Linked DNA regions of Homo sapiens: region 1 is linked to region 2. Evidence: promoter capture Hi-C in human tissues and cell types (Jung and others, 2019). All regions are on one chromosome and are shown on one strand. Each heading gives the region's core, a stretch centred on a gene start or on the middle of the fragment in contact. The rest is flanking DNA. Distances are from core to core; before and after follow the strand shown. Region 1 holds the start of DCTPP1 (dCTP pyrophosphatase 1). Region 2 overlaps MVP (major vault protein).

Evidence for each region. Contacts are between HindIII fragments. The study calls those that stand out against the background at their distance.
Region 1: a contact is called between the fragment with the promoter of DCTPP1 here and a fragment that was not itself captured in region 2, in 1 of the 25 tissues and cell types used here (dorsolateral prefrontal cortex).

The regions. Positions count from the first base shown.
Region 1 is chr16:30,428,155-30,432,051 of GRCh38, forward strand. DCTPP1 (dCTP pyrophosphatase 1) reads right to left here and starts at 1,876. Exons shown (of 3, transcript NM_024096.2): 1 at 1,726-1,876; 2 at 903-1,013. The coding sequence starts at 1,826. RefSeq lists enhancers at 1-479, 480-980, 1,734-1,813, 2,214-2,323. The HindIII fragment of the contact is 14,232 bases long and covers 1-3,897 here.
Region 2 is chr16:29,822,301-29,826,134 of GRCh38, forward strand. The region is part of intron 1 of MVP (major vault protein); the gene reads left to right. It overlaps PAGR1 (PAXIP1 associated glutamate rich protein 1), which reads left to right. Exons shown (of 3, transcript NM_024516.4): 3 at 1-189. Among named protein-coding and RNA genes, the nearest start is that of MVP, 3.8 kb to the left of the region's middle. RefSeq lists enhancers at 2,828-2,907, 2,968-3,097, 3,284-3,834. The HindIII fragment of the contact is 4,985 bases long and covers 93-3,834 here.

The sequences.
Region 1 (3,897 bases), core at 626-3,125, 610 kb after region 2:
CCAAACTCTCCATCATACTCTAGCCCTAATCATATCTTTGTGGGTTCAACTCCCACCCCTCTCCTCCACAGCCCTATCACTCATCCAACGTGTGCCTATTGAGCGCCTACTATGCGCTGGGCACTTGGGACACATCAGAGAAAACAGATCCCAAATCCCTGATTTTTCCTGAGATGCTTACAATGAAGGAGCGTCAGATTCTCCCTGAATTGAACTTGCCCTTTCTTGCCTCACTGCCCCTGCAAATGTAGTTCCCATGTCTGGAATGCCACAGGCAGGTCCTCTACAGAATACCTTCCTTTCAGCCCCAGAGGCAGAGGAAAAGGGTTGTTGGGCCAGGCGTGGTGGCTCACCCCTGTAATCCCAGCACTTTGGGAGGCCAAGGCGGGTGGATCACCTGAGGTCAGGAATTTGAGACTAGCCTGACCAATATGGTGAAACCCCGTCTCCACTAAAAATACAAAAATTAGCCAGGCGTGGTGGGGGGCACCTGTAGTCCCAGCTACTCGGGGGGCTGAGACAGAACTGCTTAAACCCAGGAGGCGGATGTTGCAGTGAGCCGAAATTGAGCCACTGCACTCCAGCCTGGGCGACAGAGCGAGACCCCGTCTCAAAAAAAAGCCAAAAAAACAAAAAACAAAAGAAGGGAAAAGGGTTGTTGCCACTGCTTCTTCCTAGACGGGACCTGTCCTGATGCTTTCACACCTCACACCTCTCTCTTCCAGGAGGCTGAGTGCCCCTAGAGGGCAGGGACCCGTGAGTCCTCTCTGCATCCCAACAACAGCAAAGAGCCTAGCAATCAGGAGGGGAAACTGAACCCATGAATGTTTGAAGACCAAATAAATGCTCCCCTCCCCTCCCCCACAACTCAGACTCTACCAGGAAGCTTTCCATCTACTCACAAGAGTTCTGCCAGCTCCCCCACTTCCCCAACCAAGGCCAGGAGGAGATTCCGAGGCTGATGGAACTGTTCCCAGTCTCGTTCCGCAGCAAACTCAGCATGGAGGCGGCGGCTGAAATAGGACAAAGGAGTGTAAGTCCAAGTCTCCGGGTTAGAGGGTGATGCAGGGGCCAGAGGCAGCTACCCCCGTAGTATGTAATGGGGCCTGGGACCAGGAGATTCTGCAACTAATTCATTGGATGGTATTGTGCAGGTCATTTCCTCTTTCCGGAACTTGGTTCCCTCATCTATAAAATGGGCGTGCCCCTGAACTGCCCTTAACATCTCGCCAAAACTAACAAAACCCTCTTCATTATTCCATCTCCTGCTGCTACTTCTGCAGTTTCCTCCACCTGGAATCGCCGCACATCAAAATGCAATTTCTCTTACAGAAGGTAGTTCCACAGACCCTTCCTCTAAGAAGCCTTTCTTGACCTCCTCCAGCAAAAAATAACGTCTCCCACCTCTCAGCACTTCGTTTGCCCCTCTCGTACCCCCGGCGCCTGGAGAGCAGAGGCGGTATCTGGTGCCGGTATCTTCCCAGGGCTAGGCTGAAGGGCGTTCCTAGTTACCACTCGGAGGCACCACCCAATTTCCCTTGCCTCAGGTGTGCACCGCTGCGCCCATTTTGCAGATGAGGTAAGAAGGCTCACCCAGGGACAGCCCACAGAGCCAGGACCCGAGCCCCGCTGCCAGCCCGCTTCCCGACCACGTGGAGGAACCCTCCCCAAAACGCGGGAGAAAGGGGCGACTTCCCCACCCCGAGCTGGGCCAGGCCTGCTTACATGTCCTCGAGCGTGGGCTCCGGGCTGAAGCTGAACCGGCCGGGAGCAGCAGTGTCCTCTCCCCCCGTGTCCCCACGAATCTCCCCACCGGCCACAGACATGCCGCCCACCGCTGCACCGCGACTTCACGGAAAACCCACGAGCCACGCTCGAAGCCCCGCCTCCAGAGCTCCGACCAATTACGGGAGTTCTCTATTGCCTCACGGGGCGGAGCCTGAGGAAAGAGACCAATGACTTTTGTGGAGTTTGCTACAGCCCTCCCCTTCCCTCACTGGACCAATCTGAGGGAGCTTCAAGCGCGCGTTTCTAGTCTTAGGCCCTGGAATTCTTCCGCTAGGCCCTGTGTCTAAAGGTAGAGGTACCAATTCGACCTGGGGAAGAGACGAAGGGCAGAGGGTGGGGGAAGCGCAGGCGCGTCACTTCGTTTATGGGCGCCAGAGGGCGCCAAAGCGAAACGGCAGCGGAAGAGGGCCCGTCAGGTGGAAAACCCTATAAATGAAAGGCCCTATGCATAGGTATTAAATCAGGGCTTAAGGACGTTGAGAAACCTCGAGGCCAACCCCCACACTATTTGGATGGGATTGAAGGGGAAGAGCGGAGTAAGATCAGACGGCAGTAGGACTTCAGCTCCCCGCCATCGCTGTGTCCTGTGGTTGAAACGATGGAGGTCGCCCCATCCCTGTCCTAAGGGAGGCAGTAGGCCCCAGCGCAACGTACATTGCCCTGAAACACGTGGCCCCTTATGGTCTGGCCTGTGCCGGCCTCTCCAGCCTCATGGGTCCCCAGCACGGCTCCTCCACCCCACACACGAGAACTCCAGGCTCCACTCACACCAGGGAATACGCGAGGTGGCGAGTCACAGGGTTGCTGCTTTCAAATCAGAACCACTGAGTTATTGGCCATGGGAGGAGCAGAGATCTTTATGAAACCCTAGAACAGGTGTAGTCTTGCAAAGAATGATTTATTATTGTACCCTTATTAGGGCTACTATCTCTGATTTCCACGTTTAAAGAGGCTTCCAGCTTGCTGGAAGTGAAAGCGTAAGAAAGCGCAGGAAGAGGCAGAGTCAGATTTTGGAAATTAAAATCCCAAGGCTGTGACAATTGCAATTCTAGGTATATGCCCTAGAGAAATTAATGAATATGTGCAGAGAGACACATGCAAGAAGTTCATTACAGTTTTGTTTCTAAGAGTGAAAAAAATTGAAAATAAAATGACTATCAACGGAAGAATGGCTACATGGAAGTATATTTATACAAATGATATTATCCAGCAGTTAAGATTGGATACATGCAACAGAAACAAGTTTAAACTGCTTTTAGCAAGAAAAAGAAATCTATTATTTTTATTTTTTAAATTTTTTATAGAGACAGGGTTTCACCATGTTGCCTAAGCTGGTCTTGAACCAGGATTGCTGGATTGGGCTCTAGCAATCCTCCTGCCTTGGCCTCCCGAAGTGCTGGGATTACAGGCACGAGCCACCCCCACCGGCCACAAGGAATTTATTGTAAGGATACAAGAGTGTCTCCAGAATACAGTGGGACCTCAGGAATGAACTGGAACTGGGGTGGCTGTTTTAAGCATTTTACATATTTAATCCTCATAGCAACTAATTTAATCCTCACAAAAACCCTATATGGTAGGTAATATTGTTGTCATCCCCATTTTAAAGATAAGGAAACTGAGGCCGGGCGCGGTGGCTCACGCCTGTAATGCCAGCACTTTGGGAGGCCGAGGCGGGCGGATCACGAGGTCAGGAGATCGAGACCATCCTGGCTAACACGGTGAAACCCCGTCTGTACTAAAAATACAAAAAATTAGCTGGGTGTGGTGGCGGGCACCTGTAGTCCCAGCTACTCAGGAGGCTGAGGCAGGAGAATGGTGTGAACCTGGGAGGTGGAGCTTGCAGTGAGCCGAGATCGCGCCACTGTGCTTCAGCCTGGGCGAAAGAGCGAGACTCCGTCTCAAAAAAAAAAAAAAAAAAAAAAAAAAAAAGATAAGGAAACTGAGAGGTTAAATAACTTAACAGCTAGTAAAGTGGTAGAGCTGGCGTCAAATCCAGGCAGTTTGGCTTCACAGTCTGTTATTAGACCCTATGATGTATTGCCTGAAATGGCGATAAATATGAAAAAAATAAATGTAACTGTATTTTAAATACTATGAAAGGCTGGG
Region 2 (3,834 bases), core at 1,335-3,834:
TTCCTAAAACTGTGCTGCTTTAAAAAAAAAAAAAGTAATTTATGAGACACATTCTCAATTTCCATTAATCATCTCCTAAAGGGGGTAAACCAGGAAGCCGCTGGGTGAAAACAGGCTGTTGGCAATTCCTGAGTCATGTGACCCATTCTCTAAAGACTAGAATATTTAACTTAAATCAGTGAGAAACTCTGTGAAGTTGTGTCCTTGTTTATACCAAACTTCATGTGCCTTTTCCTGAACCTGAAGCTGTGGGAAGGTCTGGGGGCAGGGCCGCATCACCGACCTTACGTCCAACCTCAGGACTGCCTGGAGCAAGAGCCCTGGGGTTGGGGACAAAGGAGGCTGCCTGGACCTGGGTAAGGGAAGGGGCTGGAGGAGAATGAGTGCAATTCCCTGCCCTTCACAGCCTGCAATCGGAGCTGTGTTTTTGTTTTTGAGACAGAGTCTCGCTCTGTCCCCCAGGCCAGAGTACAATGGCGCAATCTCGACTCACTGCAACCTCTGCATCCCTGGTTCAAGCAATTCTCCTGCCTCAGCCTCCCGAGTAGCTGAGACTACAGTTGCCTGCCACCATGTACGGCTAATTTTTGTATTTTTAGTAGAGACGAAGTTTCACCATGTTGGCCAGGCTGGTCTCGAACTCCTGAGCTCAGGCAATCCGCCTGCCTTGGCCTCCCAAAGTGCTGGGATTACAGCCACTGCGCCCGGCCTGAAACTGATCTTTATCCTCCTCCCAGTTCCTACTGTGCACCAGAGACCCTCCAGTCTCTAATACCTTTGACTTGAAGAGCAGTCATTTTTTTTTCCTTTTCTTTTCTTTTCTTTTTTTTTTTTTTTTTTTTGAGATGGCCTCACTCTTGCCCAGGCTAGAGCGCACTCGTGTGCTCCATTTACGGCTCACTGCAGCCTTGACCTCCCAGGCACAGGCGATCCTCCCACCTCAGCCTCCAAAGTAGCAGGGACCACAGGTGTGCACCACCACACCTAGCTAATATTTTTTATGGTTTTTATAGAGACAGGGTCTCCCTATGTTGCCCAGGCTGGTCTTGAACTCCTGGCCTCAAGTGATCCTCCCATCTTGGTCTCCCAAAGTGCTGGGATTACAGGTGGGAGCCACCAAGCCTAGTCAACAGTCACTTTTATTCTCACTTCACTGGAGAGGAAGGCTCAGAGGCTAGTAAGTGGCCCAGGAGCATGCTGGCAGTGATAAAACCTGCTGGAGTGACATTTTCCCACTGGCTCTCAATCCTGGATATATATTAAGAGTCAGAGGCCAGGCGCGGTGGCTCACGCCTGTAATCCCAGCACTTTGGGAGGCCAAGGCAGGCGGATCACGAGGTTAGGAGATCAAGACCATCCTGGCTAACACAGTGAAACCCCATCTCTACTAAAAATACAAAAAAAATTAGCTAGGCGTGGTGGTGGGTGCCTGTAATCCCAGCTGAGGCAGGAGAATGGCATGAACCCGGGAGGCGGAGCTGCAGTGATCCGAGATCGTGCCACTGCACTCCAGCCTGGGTGACAGAGCGAGACTCGTCTCAGAAAAAAAAAAAAAAAATGAGGGAGAACTTTTTACAATAGCAACGGGTGAACCTCACCCAGACCAATTAAATAGAATCACCGGAGATGGGTGGCTTTAAAAAAAGGTCTCCAGAAGGCCTGGCGCGGCAGATCACACCTGTTATCCTAGCCCTTTGGGAGGCCGAGGTGGGTGGATCACTTCCAGCCTGACCAACATGGCGAAACCCTGTCCACTAAAAACAAAATTATCTGGGTGTGGTGGCGGACATCTGTAATCCCAGCTACTTGGGAGGCTGAAGCAGGAGAATTGCTTGAACTCGGGAGGCAGAGGTTGCAGTGAGCCGAGATGGCTACACTCCAGTCTGGGCAACAAGCACGAAACTCCATCTCAAAAAAAAAAAAAAAAAAAAAAAAAAAAAACAGATTTCCAGATGACCAGTGTGCAGCCCGAGCCGAGAGTCTGCTTTAGACCAGAGCTGCTCAGACTGTAATGTGCATGCAAGTCATTGAGGGTCGAGTTAAAATGCCAGTAGATTCAGTGGCTCTGGGGTGGGGCCCCAGGCTGTGTTGCTATCAAGCCTCCAGGTGGTACCACTCTACTCACTGCAGACCCCGTAGGCAGTGTGGTCACTTGGTCAATTGCCATTTAAGACTCACTAGGGGCCAGGTGTGGTGGTTCACGCCTGTAATCCTAGCACTTTGGGAGGCTGAGGCAGGCAGATTGCCTGAGCTCAGGAGTTTGAGACCACCCTGGGGTGAAACCCCATCTCTACTAAAATACAAAAAATTAGCCAGGCTTGGTGGCATGTGCCTGTAATTCCAGCTACTCGGGAGGCTGAGGCACGAGAATTGCTTGAACCTGGGAGGTAGGTGGACGTTGCAGTGAGCCGAGATTGTGCCACTTCACTCCAGCCTGGGCTACAGTCTCCAAAAAAAACAAAAAAGAGATTCAGTATATCAGCTACTCACAGTTGACCCTGAAGATCTCTGGGAAGTAGTGACTCATGACTCGTTTATTTATTAAGTTTTGCTGTAGCAGAAGTTTACTTTTGAGCCAAGAGTCTGATCCGGTCTCCCTCTTTTTTTTTTTTTTCTTTCTTTAAAGAGATGGGGCCTTGCTATGTTGCCCAAGCTGGTCTTGAACTCCTGGCCTCAATCCATCCTCCCACCTTCGGCCTCCCAAAGTGTTGGGATTACAGGTGTGAGCCACCTCTCTCAGGCAAGAGCCCCTCTTTTAACTAGACAATGAACCTGGTTTCTGCTTTGGACAGGCTATTTAGTTCCTGCTTATTTACCCTCATGGTGGGAGAGACCCTGGTGGGATTTGGGGTGAAAGCTGGCTGTGGTTCTTGCAGGAGCCTCATGACACCTGAGGGAGGTGTGATCAGGCAAGACTGGGCCTCTACACTGAGAGCCGACTAGGGCAGGTCTCAGAAGCAGAGACTGAAGGAAGTTGGGTGGATGAGTGGATCTGGGGAGCAGGGGCCAAGCCTGAGGGCTGGGCAGAGCCTTCCAAAGGTCAACACAATCCTTGCTATTGTCTTTTGAGGGCCCTGATCTATTTTAAGTAAAATGCTCTAACTGCGCATGTCATCTGGAAGGAAACCACAAAAAACTCAATCTGAGACTTGTCACCAATGTGCTGCCTGAGTCAAAGGGTTTCCCTGGCTCACCTCCATAGATGGCGAGGGTAGAAGGCAAGACCTGTCCTGGGTGGTCTAGGCAGAAGGCCCAGGTTTAGGGCATGGCAGGTGGGTGGTCAGGGAGGTGAGGTGGGGTCCTGGTGCTGATGCAGGGGCAGTTGCCGAGGGCTTGGCCTCAGAACAAGGCAGGAGTCCAGCCATGAGGATGACTCTTGCTGAGTCACTGAGCTGGGCGAGGCATTCAGACCCCCTGACTGGGCCCAGCTGGGGCGGCAGATGGTGGAGAGGCCTCAGCTGTGGGGGGTGTTGGGGAGATTATCCACTGATGAACCAAATGGAGGCTGTTCCCAGAGCCTGCTTCCAACCTTGCACGGCCTTCTAGAGTTCAAATCTTTCCTGGGGGGGCCTCAGAGCCCTGTCCATACCTCCGCTCACAGCCCCAGCCCTTCCTCTTCTCCCATCTGGTTTCCTGGCCAGGTTTCGGCCCTGCGGAGAACCCTCCAAGGGAGCAGTGGAAAAAGCTTCACTTGGCAGTAAAGCCCCTACTTGCTGTTCCATCCCTGCAGCTGGGGTGAAATAAGCCACTGACCAGTAAACAACTGAGGCTTAAACCAGCATGCCAGCTCAGGTGGGGAGCCCCCAGCACTGGTTATATTCCCTAGATTCCTCA